2 separate regions of the Homo sapiens genome follow, and region 2 is linked to region 1. Evidence: promoter capture Hi-C in human tissues and cell types (Jung and others, 2019). All regions are on one chromosome and are shown on one strand. Each heading gives the region's core, a stretch centred on a gene start or on the middle of the fragment in contact. The rest is flanking DNA. Distances are from core to core; before and after follow the strand shown.

Region 1 (4,107 bases), core at 615-3,114:
TGAAGTGCAGTGGTGTGATCTTGGCTCACTGCGACCTCTGCCTCCTGGGTTCAAGCAATTCTCCTGCCTAAGCCTCCCTAGTAGCTGGGACTACAGGTGCATGCCACCACGCCCAGCTAATTTTTTGTATTTTTAGTAGGGACAGGGTTTCACCATGTTAGTCAGGCTGGTCTTGATCTCCTGACCTCGTGATCCGCCTGCCTCGGCCTCCCAAAGTGCTGGGATTACAGGCGTGAGCCACTGTGCCCGGCCCAGCCACACATTATTTTCAAATTAATAAATAAGTTAAAATTGCTGGCATGCAGTCATCTTAGCGAAACTGAAGAGTCAAAATGAATAGCTAGAATTCTCTGGGTGATGACCAGAACATATACCATGCTGAGTCCCGATGTGGCCGAAGGACACCGTGAGCTGAGCCAGCTAGCTAGCTTGGTTGTGGTGTGCTGGGAATGAGGGTTATGTTATCTGTGAAAGAGAATACAAATTCTGCAAAGTAAACCTGGCAGTTTGGGGAAAATGTGTTTAACTCACCCACTCCCCTCCTCGTTTGTACTATTGCTTTCCTACACTTTTTTTTTTTTTTTTTTTTTTGAGACAGAGTCTTACTCTGTCACCCAGGTTGGAGTGCAGTGGTGCAATCTCAGCTCACTGCAACCTCTGCCTCCTGGGTTCAAGCAATTCTCCGCCACAGCCTCCCAAGTAGCTGGGATTACAGGTGCATGCTGCCACACCCGGCTAATTTTTGTATTTTTAGTAGAGATGGGGTTTCACCATGTTGGCCAGGCTGGTCTCGAACTCCTGACCTCACGTGATCCGCCCACCTTGGCCTCCCAAAGTGCTGGGATTACAGGTGTGAGCCACCGCGCTGGCCAACTTTCCTACTTTTCAATTTGAGTTTACTCAGGGGTTGGAACATTTATTCCAACAAAATGTGCCTGATGTAACCTCTCAGTGATTAAGCACGCCTGCTTAGTATGCATCAACTTCAGCGCAGTATGTGCACCTCTCTGAGGACATCTCTACTAAGCCCTCAGTGACTGATGCTGCTTCACTTTCTTCAGGTGTATAAATTGAAAAGGCAATTTTTACCTGCTATGAAGTCCCAAGAAAACGGGACTTGGCTCCTTGGGCATATTAGCCTTTAGTCTTGTTAGTGATGATCAGATGTTGCTTGAGCATATTTGGAAAATAACTTTGTATGTTGAAATTTTGGGAAATCAAAGTATTATACTGCAAATCACTTGAAAGAGGGCAAATACCAAATGGTAAAGCTTAGCCAGATGTGATATAATCATTTCACTGAAGATATGAGATAGGTAAAATTTTTTTCTTATAGGTAATGAACACATTTGATTGTAATTTGAGTTAAAGTATTATAGTCCCTTTTAAAAAAAAAGCCCAGAATGTTAAAAGTGTGAACTCCATTTCAGCAAGTTGAAAACATTTGAGTGTTTAAGATATTATCACAGGTCTGCGTATTCCAGGTTCAACTTACTAGGAATTCTGGATTCTAAGTATTTTAAATTGAAGTTAAAGTGAAATCAAGTGTAAATTAATCTGTGATTTTTTTTTCGTTCTGGTTATTTTTAGGTAAATAAATGAGGTCAGGATGTGAGACTGGCGAATAATATATGCTGAGATAACCCATTACTGTGATTGAATTCCAGGAGGAAATTGAAGAGGGGTGATGACGCAAAGGTGAATACAGACAACATGAAAACGGCTAATACATGTTGGGAAACTTTTTTTTTCATTTCTTTTTCTTTTTCTTTTTTTTTTTTTTTTTGAGACGGAGTTTTGCTCTTGTTGCCCAGGCTGGAGTGCAATGGCACGATCTTGGCTCACTGCAACCTCCGCCTCCCCAGGTTCAAGGGATTCTCCTGCCTCAGCCTCCCAAGTAGCTGGGATTACAGGCACCTGCCACCATGCCCAGCTATTTTTTTTCTTTTTTTTTTTTTTAGTACAGACGGGGTTTCACCATGTTGGCTAGGCTGGTCTGGAACTCCTGACCTCAGTCGACCCACCTGCCTCGGCCTCCCAAAGTGCTGGGATTACAGGCGTGAGCCACCGTGCCCAGCCCAAGTGAAAAACTCTTTACCACAATTAATAGGTGAGTTCATTAGGGATGATAGCACACCCTTCAGAAACCGTATTTACTACAGATCTCCCACAACTATCACACTCAATACTAACTAAAAGGCCAGAGGATTGGATTCATATAACTTTTTTAAAAGTACACATATATTTTATAAATATAAGGATATTATTTGCACTAGCAATTTATCTGTATTCCTAAAGTGTCATACAAATGATTCTTGCAAATCTGTTTTAACTAGGGAGAAAACAATGTATTGAGATAGTTGGACTAGACCTATCTACCACTAACACTAAACTTGGAAGAAAAGATCCAAGAGTTCATAGCTTAATTCTAAACCATCTATGCTTCTCACTTGAAAACAGAGAAGGGCTGATGTAAATGAGTTGTGAGGGTATCTGACTACCTTAAAAGCAGAATATTTGAAGGTTTTAGCCCTGGAAGGATTCCTAGGTGAGAAGGCAGCACCTATTTCATATTCTACTTTTGGTTGCCTCCTGGCTTTTGTTTTGTGACCTCAACCAGACTCCTTGTGTAGGTTACAATTTATTTGTGGATGTGAACCCGGGCTCCTTTTGTAGGTTATAGTTTATTTGTGGGTGTGAACCCCCTTCCTTTGCCTGGTTCAATTTCTTCAGTGGTTTAGGAAAGACACCCCTCCAAGCAGTGGCCTGTTTTAAATCCGTAGGCCTCTCTTCCTACCACTCACTTCTTGGCCCAACCCCCCTTCACATTCCTCTGCTTGGGAAGATATTGGGGCAAAAAAGGCCTCATACATTTTTTATTAAGAAACCATTTTCTCTCTAGGATGGGCACAAGGTGCAGGGCTATTTCCTTACATTAGAAGGTATTTTAAAACCTGGGCTGGAGACGCCATGCTGTAAATTTAAAATAAAAAAAAAATGTAAGCCGAACCTTCTTTTTAACCTTAAGAATAGTCTTCACTATTCTCCACCACCTTCCCACCGGCTGTGTAGAAATAACGACCACCAAATGAGAATAGGCTATTTACTCAGAGCTGGCAAGAGTCAGCCGCGACCCATCACTTGATTTAACAGACTCATAGGCAGGCAGGGGAGTGGAAAAGCTTTACATATACTGAAAAAAGGGAGAAACTTCAGGTTGGCTCTGATTGGAGGATGTTGGCATCGGGAAGTTGGAGGAGGGCTATACTAGAAGCAGGGCTTCTTACGCGATTGGTGTGAGGAGCACATTTGGCTTTCTCTGATTGGCCCAGAGCTGGAAGCAGGGGCAAGAAATAGGGAAGCTGCCGGTTAAAGATTAAGTCCTGACCCTTCTGGCCGATTACTGAAGAGGTTATGGGTAGGAGGTCATGGTTAGGTTTGGCCATTCTTTGTATATTCAGTCTCTCAATTGGGTGAGGATTAGATTTTGTTTCTCTTGACCTAGCTAGCTTTTAGCTCCAAAGTTTTGTTTAACTTGGAAGAAGACAGCAGTTCTATTATTTCTGTCAAGGATAAACACAGACATTGGGATCTGAAAAGTATTATGGGAACATACATAAATATCTTCATAGTGAGGGTCAGGCCGGAGAGTCACCCTTTGCCTTAAGCTTCTCCATTTCCTTACTGAATTCCTATTTCTATTATAACTGACGCTTCACTAGCTTCCCTCCCTTTAGTGGAGGGCCCGGCCTCCTCCGCCCCTACTTTCTTCAGTCTTGCCCTTCGAGGGCAGGAGAAGACGGTTGCGCCCTACTAACTCTTCACCTTACAGTCCAGCTTCTCCCCCCACCACCCCGGTGCGCTCTCTCGGTTTGCTACCCTCTCCACCAGGCCTCCCCACTCCACCTGCGCAACGCCCCCAGCTCCGTGCTCTCCGGAGTAATCCCCCCTCAGTCGCACTCTCACAGCCCGGCCCCTGCCCCCGCCTCACCCCCAGTTGTGCCTTCACCTCCCGGTTCCTCCTAGACAGGTCCCCCAAGATACGCCCTCACAGTCCGGTCCCCCGCCGTCCTCTCCCGGCGCACGCTCAAGTCCGGTGCCTTCCCC
Region 2 (3,798 bases), core at 899-3,398, 370 kb before region 1:
CACACCTGGCCTTCCTGCCACGTCTTGCCTCTCCCCTGAAGCTTCACGAACACCTTTCCCTGAGTTCCACCCTGGTAAACTGCTTTATTTAGGTGTCCTTTTTCCTTCTTGGCCACCAGCAAGCTCAGATAGGAGTCCTGTGTTCATTTTCAGTGGCTTTTCTGTGCCTAGATTTTCCAGTAATAATTATCCACCCCACTCTGCCTTTCTTCCGCAGATATCAGATCCTTTTAGCTGAGTTTTAATGGCTTCATCATTTTATGTTCTCTGTGACTTTTATGTAAGCAGCCTTTGAGGCTGACATAAATAATAAATAAATGAATGAACTTCTCACTTGACATCTCCAGATGGACAACCTGCCACTGCTTCAAACTTCTCCCATGTAAAACTGAACTCATCATTCCCCTCCTCTTGTCATTTACCTTGCTGCAAATCTTCCCACCCACGCCTTACATTAGAAACCTGACCTCTCTCTTCAAATCTTTCTTCCCTTGCTCCTTTAGGCAGTGTGAAGAGTCCTAGCAATTCCTCCCCACTGCTTTGCCAGCCAGTTGCTGCCCCGACCAGCATTTATTGGACCCGATCTCCTCACCAGCCTTTCTGCCTTCAGTCTCATCCCATTCTAATCCCTCACCCCAAGCACCAAGCACCTCCCGAAAAGTCCAAGGTTACTTATAGAGTCCAAACACTGGGCTCCCACAAGCTATTTTTCTGAGTTTGTCCCAGCCTGTGCCTTATACCCCAGGCTCACCGGATTCTTGCTCTTGCTGTCCTAAATTTGTTCATACACTCTTCCCAGTTTGGAATGACCTTTTTCCTCTGTTAGAGTCCCAACCAATTTTTTTTTTTTTTTTTTTTTTTTTTTTTTTTTTCCTGAGACAGGGTCTCTCGCTCTGTTGCCCAGGCTGGAGTGCAGTAGTACGATCTCAGCTCACAGCAACCTCTACCTCCTGGGCTCAAGCCATCCTCCTGCTTCAGCCTCCTGAGTAGCTAGGACTAAAGTGGTGTGCCACCACACCTGGCTAATTTTTGGCTTTGGTTTTTGTAGAGACGGGGTTTTCACCATTGTTGCCCAGGGTGGTCTCGAACTCCTGGGCTCAAGTGATCCGCCCGCCTTGCCCTCCCAAAGTGCGGGGACTGCAGGCGCGAGCCACCACTCGGGCCCCAACCAATCTTTTAAGATCCTGCTCAAAAGTCTCCGTCCCTGGGAAGTCTTTTCTGAGGCCTCTGAACTCACTTAAATGGAATGTGCCCCTATTTGGCACCTGGTCTCCTCCACTGAGATCGGGGCTTCTTGGGCAGGGTACGCTTAAGGAGAACTGGCTGCATTGGGCCACCTGCCTTAGCAGGGCCAACCAGCGGAGGAGCTGGCTGGGTGCTGGCCCGTCCCAGGGGCTGCGGAAGGGTTAAGAGAGGGCTCCAGAAGCCTGAGAAAGCCTAGGTTCCGGTTTAACCTCGGATCTAGGGCCACTGAGTCAAGACGGGACTTGCGGGGCCGAGGGCAGTTCTCCGGTGATCACCCAGGTCTCCAGGGCAATGAGAAAAGGAGGGGGCACTGCAGGAAACGTACAGGGGCGGTGTTCCTACAGGTCCAGAGCTCCTCCACCAAACTGGGTCCCAAACAGCTCTCCTACTTTCGGGTGGCCTCGGGAACGCAGGGGGAGACTTGCCAGAACGCCCGCCATTCAGCGCCCAGCTCCGTCCCTCTCGTTCTCGGCCGGGATCTCCCCGCGGCCCTTGCACAGCCTCCTCCCCCGGCCCGCCCTGCCCCCCGCTCAGCGCGGCCTCCCAGCCAGGGCGCAGGGGTTATCAAGCCCGCTAGGCCTTTACCCGCGGCTGCCCAGTTCCGGGAGCCGTCGGCCGCGGCCCAGAGGGGTCGGCTGGGCGGACGCCGGCGTCTCCCGCTAGCTCCCAGAGTCCCCGGCTCCTCGGCGTGGCGCTTCCTGCCCACCTCCGCCCGCCTGCGCGGCCCTGGCACCTGGCAGCGGGCGCGAAAGAGGACGAGCCCAGGCACTCGGGCCTGCGGGGTCCTGGGACGAGGGGGTCAGCGAGAGGGGCCCGGTGCTCCGGAGCAGGCGCAGGGCTGGAACCCCGGCGCCACCCGTCCCGCCATCGTCCCCCCTCCCTGCCTCCATCCCCGCGGGCACTGCCGCTAGTACTGCCCTCTGCAGGTTCCCAAGCGCCAGTGACACCCAGTGACCTCACTAACCACCTCCCAGGCTGGGCTGCTTGTTAGGCCCATTTTACAGATGAAGAAACTGATGCTCAGAAGGGTGAAATGACTTGTGCAGGTTGATTCAGTTAGGAAGTGGATGAGCCAGAACAACATCCCGGGCCTGAGTCTTCCTACCTTACCCCTGGGCCTCCCTGAGGCGCGGTGTCCAGGGGATTCTTCCCTCTGTCCCTCTCCGCCTCCCCAGCCTACCTTCAGGCAGAGACCTGAGCCTAAGGCTTCCTTGGGTTCTGCCTTATGTATCCGGTCCTCTTCAGAGCCCAGACCTATGTGTGTGGCTGCTGGTAACCTTGGTTAAGAAAGAAGGAAGAATGGGGGCTGAAGGACAACTTGCACCCCAACCTGCTCTTCGGGTCTGACACCCATTCATGGCCTAGCCCTGGGGCTTCCCAGTTCCCAAAGCCCCCACCCTTATCCCTACACTTCCACACACTTCCACACCCTGGGCTCACGTAGCCCAGAAGGAGGAGCCACCCACCACCCACAGCCAGGGCACGCCTTCGTATGCAAGCATGAGTGTACGATGTTCACACAACAGAGCTGTGCACTAGGGCACCCACAGAGAGGCTCTCCAGGGCAGGGCTGGGAAGAGGACTTACTGAAAACAATGTGGATGTTTCATTTAGACATTTGTTCATTCGTTGTACTGTGGTATTGGGTAGCACTGAGCACCTCACCCCCACAAGCCAGGTCCAGCACTAGGCCCTGGGCTGCCAACCACAGCAAGGCAGGCACCTCACTTTAATGGAATCAACTACCACATTTACAAATGATGTACTTCAAGGCCGAGGCAGGAGGATCACTTGAGACCAGGAGTTTGAGACCAGCCTGGGTGACATAGTGAGACCCTGTCTCTATTTAAAATGAAAATAGAAAATAAAAATATAAAAAACAGACAAACAAATGATGTACTTCAGTGGCAGAGGCAAGGCATTAGGAGAGTCTGGAAAAGGGAGTGCAGAGGAGGTAACATTTGTACTGGATCTGAAAAAATAAATCAGAGGACCAGCCGCGGTGGCTCACACCTGTAATCTCAGCACTTTGGAAGGCTGGGGGTGAGGGCAGATCTCCTGAGGCCAGGAGTTTGGGACCAGCTCAAACTCGTCACCATGGCCAACATGGTGAAACCCCCGTCTCTACTAAAAATAACAAAAATTGGCCAGGCATGGTGGCTCATGCCTGTAATCCTAGCACTTTGGGAGGCCAAGGCAGGCGGATTGCCTGAGCTCAGAAGTTCACGACCAACCTAGGCAACGTGGTGAAACCTCATCTCTACTAAAAATACAAAAATTAGCCGGGCTGGGTGGTGCATGCCTGCAGTCCCAGCTACACAGGAGGCTTAGGCAGGAGAATCGCTTGAATCCAGGAGGCGGAGGTTGCCGTGAGCCAAGATCACGCCACTGCATTCCAGCCTGGGAGACAGAGCAAGACTCTGTATCAAAAAAAAAAAAAAAATCAACCAGACGTGGTGGCATGGGCCTGTAGTACCAGCTACTCAGAAGGCTGAGGCACAAGAATTGCTTGAACTTGGGAGGTAGAGGTTGCAGTGAGCCGAGATCATGCCA

What was found. Contacts are between HindIII fragments. The study calls those that stand out against the background at their distance.
Region 2: a contact is called between the fragment with the promoter of NLRX1 here and a fragment that was not itself captured in region 1, in 1 of the 25 tissues and cell types used here (mesenchymal stem cells).

The regions. Positions count from the first base shown.
Region 1 is chr11:118,792,120-118,796,226 of GRCh38, reverse strand. No RefSeq gene overlaps it. Among named protein-coding and RNA genes, the nearest start is that of DDX6, 3.0 kb to the right of the region's middle. RefSeq lists enhancers at 3,178-3,287, 3,676-4,107. The HindIII fragment of the contact is 4,819 bases long and covers 1-4,107 here.
Region 2 is chr11:119,167,075-119,170,872 of GRCh38, reverse strand. It overlaps NLRX1 (NLR family member X1), which reads right to left and starts at 2,148. Exons shown (of 10, transcript NM_001282144.2): 1 at 1,571-2,148. RefSeq lists enhancers at 648-1,352, 1,353-2,058 and a silencer at 1,630-2,239. The HindIII fragment of the contact is 23,273 bases long and covers 1-3,798 here.